3 separate regions of the Homo sapiens genome follow, and regions 1 and 3 are each linked to region 2. The links are contacts of gene promoters, found by promoter capture Hi-C in blood cells and fetal thymus (Javierre and others, 2016). All regions are on one chromosome and are shown on one strand. The core of a region is centred on a gene start or on the middle of the fragment in contact, and the rest is flanking DNA. Distances in the headings are between cores, read along the strand shown.

Region 1 (2,700 bases), core at 55-2,554, 220 kb before region 2:
CTGGCTTTGTGGCTTAGTCTTGTCCAAGGAACACAGGACTGAGGAAAATGAGCCGGAGTTCCCATGCTGGCCTGACCATAATAATCACTCAGCGGGACTTAATTGTAGCAATTTCTGGGATCTCCCAAACTTTCTAAATCCAAGTCTCCAGATAGGGAGCCCAGGAATCTAAATTTTAAACCCTGCAGGAGATTCCCTTGACTGACGAGTGTGGGAAGCACTGCCTTCTCAGCCTTTAATGTGTATAGGAATCACCTGGGGATCTTGTTGCACTGCAGGCTCTGATTCAGAAGGTCTGGGGCAGAGTTCAGTATTTTGCATTTCTAATACGCTCCCAGGTGACCCCCATGTTGCCAGTCTGGGGACCACACTTTGAATAGCAGCAGTATCTGGACAGTGGTCTCCAAGTATGGTCCCTAGACCAGCAGCCTCAGCGGGAATTTGTTAGACATGCAAATTCTCAGGCCGCATCCCAGATCTATGGAATCATACTCTGGAGGTAGGCCCAGCAATCTGTTTTCATGCCTCCAGGTGATTCCGATGCATGCCCAGGCTTGATTTTTTTTTTTTTTTTTTTTTTTTTTTTTTTACAGGGTCTTGCTTTGTCACCCAGGATAGAGTGCAGTGGCACAATCATAGCTTAGTGCAGCCTTGACCCAGGCTCAAGTAATCCTCCCTTCTCAGCCTTGAGTAGCTAGGACTACAGGTGTGCACCAGCACTCCTGGCTAATTTTAAATTTTTTTTGTACAGATGAGGTTTCACTGTGCTGCTCCATCTAATCTCAAACTCCTGGCCTCAATTGTTCCTCCCACTTCCACCTCCCTAAGTGTTGGGATTACAAGCATGAGCCACAGTCCATGCCCAAGCTTGAGAATCACTGGTCTAGGATAAAGAATCTGACTCTGGCTGAATTGTCTTTGATCAGTGTGTTACCTTCAGTCCCACTCTTCATTAAGATTTAACCACACCCTCTCGCTGCTTCCCCATTAGGGGGATTAGTACTCTTGGAGACAAAGGGCCCACTGCACTGAAATGATTCCTGACTCCAGCTCAGCCCATGCAGCCCTTTCTGGGGCCTTGCCAGCTACAGCACTCCTGCTCAGGTTCTCCTTTGATCCTAGGGAAGGCTGGTTTGATTTTTATCCTTGTAGGCACTTGGCACACAGAGCTGAAGGAGCCAGAGTGGAGGCACACTTCTGCAAGAGAGTTCTAATCAGGACGTTAGAATGGGTGACAGCCACTCAGGGATGTGGGCCTTGGCAGGGAGGGACTTGAGCTTGAGCCCACCTTCCCACTCCTGCTGCCATACAACTGTAATGCCCGTCTTCTTATGATACGCACATCTTCAAAACAAGCCTCAAGGTGCAGTTCATGAATGGGGCAGGAAGTAGGGAATCTCTGGTCTCTTCTTAAAAGAATCCCACGGCATAACTCTCCTTTTCTACTTAGGGAGGCACCTAAGAATTACAAAATTTAAAATCCTAGGTCTATCCACTAAGAAATATGCACTGGTGTTCCTCCCTGGCTCCTGGCCAGAGCTGCTAAAACCCTTCTAATTTCCTCGGTGACAGAAGTGTTTTCTGTTCTAATGAGGCAACACTTGGTGGGCTCCTGGATGGGGACTGGTCACTAGAAAGACAAAGCCATCATTATGAGCTTGGGGCTTTCAGTCCCACCTCATCCTCTGGAGTGGGGAGAGGAGCTCGAGATTGAGTTAATAATTGATAATGCTTATGTGATGAAGCTTCCATAAAAATCCCTAAAGTACGAGGTTCAGAGAGTTTCCAGGTTGGTGAACACATCCAACACACCAGAAGGGTGGCACACCCCAACTCCCTGGGACCCCTCCAGACCTTGCTCTATGTATTATTATTATTATTTTTAGACAGATTCTTGCTCTGTTGTCCAGACTGGAGTGGAGTGGCACAATTTAGGCTCACCGCATCCTCTGCCTCCCGGGTTCAAGCAATCCTCTTGCCCCAGCCTCCTGAGTAGCTGGGATTACAGGTGTGCACCACCACGCCCAGCTAATTTTTGTATTTTTAGTAGAGACGGGGTTTCATCATGTTAGCCAGGCTGGTCTCGAACTCCTGACCTCAGGTGATCCACCCGCCTTGGCTTCCCAAAGTGCTGGGATTACAGGCTTGAGCCACTGTGTCCAGCCTCCTACATACTTCTTTATCTGGCCATTTACCTGTATCCTTTATCGTATCCTTTTTTTTTTTTTTTGAGACAGAGTCTTGCTCTGTCACCCAGGCTGGAGTGCAGTGGCGCAATCTCGGCTCACTGCAAGCTCCGCCTCCCGGGTTCATACCATTCTCCTGTCTCAGCCTCCTGAGTAGCTGGGACTACAGGCACCCACCACCACACCCAGCTAACTTTTTGTATTTTTAGTAGAGACGGGGTTTCACCGTGTTAGCCAGGATGGTCTCAATCTCCTGACCTCGTGATCCACCCACCTCGGCCTCCCAAAGTTCTGGGATTACAGGCGTGAGCCACCGTGCCCAGCCTATCGTATCCTTTTTATTTTATTTTTTTCTGTTTCTAGAATACAGACAGGGTCTCACTATATTGCCCAGGCTGGTCTTGAACTCCTGGGCTCAAGCAGTCCTCCTGCCTCCCAAACTGCTGGGATTACAGGTGTGAGCCACTGCACCCAGCCTCATATCCTTTTGAATAATAAACCGGTAAATTCAGTG
Region 2 (2,700 bases), core at 44-2,543:
ATGGCCACAGGTTTCCCTGGCGGCGGTGTCTATCAATCCCGTCCCAAGAAGGAGAGCCTGGGCGTGGAGGTTCTGGGCAGCTGAAGGCAGAGATCCATCCCTTCCCTGGCTACCCACCCCCACCTCAGCAACGCCTCCCAGAACGCTCCAAAGCTTTCTCAAGTCCCCGCTCCCAGGTTAGGGCCCTGTAGCCAGTTCCAAGGTCTTTTTCAGGAGCGCGCTTCCCAAATAAAGTTGAGAGGGGGCGGGGGGAATGAGGGAGCCCCAGATCCACCTCAGAGTGGTCCCCAGAGGGCTTGGGCCCCTTTCTCCGGATTGTTCAGTGGGAAGGAGGGCCGGCTGGTGCCTCAGGCCCGCGGGACTGTGACAGCCGGCGACCCCTGCGACCTCCCTTTCTACCCGGGCGCCCCCACCTTGAGATAGTCGTTCTCCGAGCGCAGCTCCTCCAGCTCCCGCACCAAGCCGCTGGGCCCGCAGTCCAGCATCTCCTCGGTGAGGTCGGAGAAGGCAAGCGAGGCGCTGAGCGGCAAGCGGCTGCTGCCCACCGACGACGCGGCCACCGACGGCTCGTCCGGGGAGGCGGGCGGCCGCGGGGGCTGCTGCGCGGAGGGCGCGGGCTGGGCCGGCTGCCCCGTACGGACCCCCGCCGGGCCCCCGGCCGCGGACTCGGCGTCGCTGCTCAGCGCCAGCTCCAGGCCCAGCAGGCGCGCCTCCTCCGACGCGCAGTCCGACACCTCCGAGCTGCTATCCGTGAGGCTGGGGGGCGGCGGTGGCGGTCGCGGCCCCGCACCCGAGCGCGGACGGCCCTTGGCACGGACCCCGGTGCGGACCCCGGCCACCCGCACACCCGCACCGCGCGCCCCGGGAGCCACTGCGCGCCCCTTCTTGTCCGGCCGTGAGGAGAACGCGGCGCTGCAGGCGACTGCTGAGCCCGGGCCTGGGCCGCGGCGGCCCTTAGCCAGCGACCAGCCGGCCACGTCTTTGGGCCGGGCCGGCGACGGCGCGCGGTGGCTCTTTTTCCTCTCCGGGGCAGGCGCGGGTGCAGGCGCGGGCTGGGGACCGCAGCCCCGGACCGGGGGCTCGGCCGCCGGCGCCTCCATCGCGGCCTCCCTCGGCCTCAGCGAGCTGCGCGCATGGCCCAGGCCCGCCCGGCCTCGACGTCCCTGGGGAGGGACCCGGCGCGGCTCCGGCCGCTGGGGCTGCGGCTGCTCTCGGCCCACCTCGGCCCCGACACCGCGTCCCCGTCCCAAGCCCCGCCGCGCGGTCTCTCCGCTGCTCTGGGCTCGGAGAGTGCGGCCCGACCGCCTCCAGGCGCCCCGGCTCCGGCTGCGGCTCCGCCCGGCGCCCGCCCCCTCGGCCTCGCCGCGCCCCCGGAGCGCGCCCGGGCCCCCGCCGCCCGCACGCCGATCGCTCCCTCGGGCTCCGAGTCCGGCTGCGGCCCGGGCCCCGGCTCCGCCCGGCGCAGCCCGCCCCCCGCGCAGCCCCGCCAGCTCCCCGCCCCGCCGCCTCGGCTCGGGGGCGCGCGGTTCCGCGAACAAAAGGCGGACGCGGCGGGAGCGGCAGGGAGGGACGCAGGCAGGGAGCGAGGGAGGGATCTGCGAGGCAACAGCGACCCCTTCGAGGGTCAGGCTGGCGCGGGCAGCCGCGGCCCGGGCTCCCTCCTCCTCCGCTCCGCCGCCTCCTCCCCTGCCCGCTCGGGGAAGGCACCCGGCGGAGGCGCCCCTGCGCCCGGCGTCCGGGCAGGGCCTGCGAGAGCGGCGGGAGCCGGGACTCCCGGGCCGAGGCCGGGCGGACCTCAGTTCGCAGGAACCCGCATCCATGCACGCCCAGCGCCTCGCCCCTCGCCCCGTGCCGAGCGTGCGCGAACTCCGCCCCCTTAGCCGGCATCGCCGGAGCCGCGATCCCATCGCACAGATGCGTAAACTGAAGCCTGGGGTGCACGCGCCAAGCTCACGGTCTAGGCGGCGCCGATGGGACCCAAAGCTCACACCTCCCGGGCGCGCTCGGGCTCCCCCTGCCTCGGCTTCCCTCTCCTGGCATAGGGACCGTGAAGCCCTGTGTGCATGCCTGGCTCGCGCACCTTGACCGGCGGATATTTCTCCCCATGCGCCCCCGACCCGGGTTTCAGGCTCTGTACGGCTAAAATGGAAGCGACCCGTAGCTAGGCGCGGTGGCTCATGCCTGTAATCCCAGCACTTTGGGAGGCCGAGGCGGGTGGATCACGAGGTCAGGAGTTCGAGACCAGCCTGACCAACATGATGAAACCCCGTCTCTACTAAAAATACACAAATTAGCCGGGCGTGGTAGCGCGTGCCTGTAATCCCAGCTACTCGGGAGGCTGAGGCAGGAGAATCGCTTGAACCCGGGAGGCGGAGGTTGCAGTGAGCCGAGGTCGCGCCACTGCACTCCAGTCTGGGTGGCAGAGCTAGACTCCATCTCAAAAAAATAAACAAATAAATAAAAACAAAAATAAAATGGAGGGGACCTATTACGAGATGTCAGCCTAGCGGATGCTTTGGAAGGCGGTTTTGGCCCCCGTGGGGGCTGGCATGGGCTGGGACGGTTGCCCTGACCCCACACGTCCCCACCAGGAGCAGTGCAGGAGGACTTGAGCTCTGATGGGCGTGTTTTCTTTCCTCCCGGGCGTCTGGGCGTCTCCTTGGCTCCTGGCCGTGTTGATTTTCCCATGTCTCTCACACC
Region 3 (2,700 bases), core at 169-2,668, 240 kb before region 2:
CCAGTACTTTACGATGCCAAGGTGGGTAGATCACAAGGTCAAGAGATCAAGACCATCCTGGCCAACATGGTGAAACCCTGTCTCTACTAAAAATACAAAAATTAGCTGGGCGTGGTGGCACGCACCTGTAATCCTAGCTACTCGGGAGGCTGAGGCAGGAGAATTGCTTGAACCCAGGAGGCATAGGTTGCAATGAGCCGAGATTGTGCCACTGCACTCCAGCCCAATGACAGAACGAGACTCCGTCTAAAAAAAAAAAAACACACACAAAAATTCGCAGGGCGTGGAAGCATTCACCTGTAGTCCCAGCTACTCAGGAGGCTGAGGTGGGAGAATCGCTTGGGCCTGGGAGGTGGAGGTTGCAGTGAGCCGAGATAGTGCCACCGCACTCCAGCTTGGGTGACCCTGTCTTAAAAAAAAAAAAGTCTGGGCGCGGTGGCTCATGCCTGTAATCCCAGCACTTTGGGAGGCCCAGACGGGCAGATCACAAGGTCAGGAGATCGAGACCATCCTGGCTAACATGGTGAAACCCCATCTCTACTAATACAAAAAATTAGCCGGGTGTGGTGGCAGCCGCCTGTGGTCCCAGCTACTCGGGAGGCTGAGGCAGGAGAATGGCGTGAAACCGGGAGGCAGAGCTTGCAGTGAGCCGAGATCCCGCCAACTGCATTCCAGCCTGGGCGACAGCAAGACTCCATCTCAAAAAAAAAAAAAAAAAGAGGAAAAGAAAAGAGATAAACCTATTATAGCTACAGAAGAGGTATTTTCAAGATGCTATGGGAGTTGAGAACAAAAATTGACATAGTATGGGAAGGCGATAGCCTGGGTAGGTGATAGTCTGGGAAGGCGATAGTCTGGGTAGGTGGTAGTCTGGGAAAGTCCCACTGGAAAGAATGGCGAAGGATGAGTGTGAGCTTGCCGTGAGGAGAAGCGGAGGGCAGGCTTTCCAGATGGAGGGAGGGGTATGTGTAAGGATGCAGCGGTAGAAAGAACAAGGTGTTTACAGAGTGGCTGGTGGGCAGAGGGTCCAGAGGGAACAGTGGAAGCTGTGGCTGGACGCGGAGCCTAGAGGAGGACCCACCAGAAAGAAAGGCCAAGTATAAGGTCCTAATTTCAGAAAGCTCCAGCAGGCTTAGGCAACATCACCTCCGGGACCTCTGGGGTCAGGTATTCCAGTGATGATGCTGGGAGTGAGGGATGAGGGATCAGATAAGGAGCTGCATGTGAGAAGTGGGCCTAGCAGGACCCTCCTGAACCTTCTCTGCTGAGGCCTCTAAGAAGCTTTAGGGATTGAATGTTGCACCCTCCACTGTCTGCACCCTGAGGACAAAAGCCATGACTTAGCAGGCCTGACTCGGAGGAGATGCTCAGTAAGTGTTTCCCAACTGACAGTGGACAGAGGTGAGCCCTGCAGGGGCAGGAACCACGTCTTGCTCATCAATCTCCCTTATAGTGCCTGACACAGAACAGATATACAGCAGGACAGCGCAGAGGGGCTGCTGCTGGGGCCTGTCCCTAACCCTGTGCTGACCTCTGCACAATCCTGTGACCTCCACAAAGCTTCTAGGCCCCCTTCACGGAGCAAGATTTGGGGCCTGACTAGAGCCTGGCCATGGCTGTCCCGAGGCCTATCATATAGCCAGGTATGCCAGAAGGACTTGGGAAGATGGGGTCTTCCTGCTCCGGACTCTGATTAGTGTTCCTGGTAGCTCAGGGCCCCAGGCCTTCCTCCTTGGTCCACATGCAGGCTTGAAGCTCGTGTGGAATCAGTGCCTTTGGGCCAATGAAAAGCTGATCCTGGCATCACTCACTCACTTGGTCAATGGCTAATTCCCATTATATACGACAAGAGCATAATGTAAAGTACATTGTCTCTTATTACTTCATTCTGGGTTCCCTAGATTGGAACTCTGTTTTCAAACTCAAGAGAACAATAGAACCATCCAGAGAGCCTGTCCAAGAAGCAGATTTCTGACCTCTGCCCCCAAAAGTCTGATTCAGTTAGGTCTGCGGTAGGGCCTACAAGTCTACAGTGTCAACAAGTTCCCCTGATGAGTCCTGTACACTCAAGTCTGAGAACCACTGTTCTATGACGTCACTTGGGCCCCTAGAGTCACTGTGGTGTCAAACCACAGTATAAAAGTTTACACTGTGACGCAGGACACACCTTATACAAAATCTGAAACAAAAGTTTTATGACGCAATGTTTACCCCAACCATGGTCATGTTCTCTGCTCAATTTCACTACAAACACGCACTGGTCCAGACGCACTAAATTAGTGGGTTCCGACCCTGGCTACCCATCAGAATCACCTGGGCAGCTTTTACAGTGTGCAGGCCACATCCCTGACCAGTGAGATCAGAAACCCTGGAGGTGGGGTACAGGCATCAGTGTTGATTTATTGAATTTATTTATTTATTTGAGACAGGGTCTTGGTCTGTCACCCAGGCTGGAGTCCAGTGGTGTGATCATAGCTCACTGCAGCATCGACTTCTTGGGCTTAAGTGATCCTCCTGCCTCAGCCTCCCAAGTAGCTTAGACAACACGCACATGCCACCACACCTAGCTAACTTAAAAAAAAATTTTTTTTTTTTAAGAGATGGGGGTCTCCCTTTGTTGCCCAGACTGGTTTTGAACTCCTGGACTCAAGTGATCCTCCTGCCTTGGCCTCACAATGTGCTGGGATTACAGGTGTGAGA

Evidence for each region. The method cuts DNA at HindIII sites, captures the fragments that hold promoters and counts their contacts. A CHiCAGO score of 5 or more calls a contact.
Region 1: a fragment that was not itself captured here is called in contact with the fragment with the promoter of MTCL2 in region 2 in 1 of 17 cell types (endothelial precursors); the score reaches 5.6 in endothelial precursors.
Region 3: a fragment that was not itself captured here is called in contact with the fragment with the promoter of MTCL2 in region 2 in 1 of 17 cell types (endothelial precursors); the score reaches 5.7 in endothelial precursors.

The regions. Positions count from the first base shown.
Region 1 is chr20:36,646,333-36,649,032 of GRCh38, forward strand. No RefSeq gene overlaps it. Among named protein-coding and RNA genes, the nearest start is that of SLA2, 1.5 kb to the left of the region's middle. The HindIII fragment of the contact is 878 bases long and covers 866-1,743 here.
Region 2 is chr20:36,862,245-36,864,944 of GRCh38, forward strand. MTCL2 (microtubule crosslinking factor 2) reads right to left here and starts at 1,294. Exons shown (of 15, transcript NM_080627.4): 1 at 414-1,294. The coding sequence starts at 1,100. RefSeq lists silencers at 894-1,043, 1,114-2,003. The HindIII fragment of the contact is 4,947 bases long and covers 152-2,700 here.
Region 3 is chr20:36,626,142-36,628,841 of GRCh38, forward strand. The region is part of intron 5 of SLA2 (Src like adaptor 2); the gene reads right to left. Among named protein-coding and RNA genes, the nearest start is that of SLA2, 19 kb to the right of the region's middle. The HindIII fragment of the contact is 279 bases long and covers 1,280-1,558 here.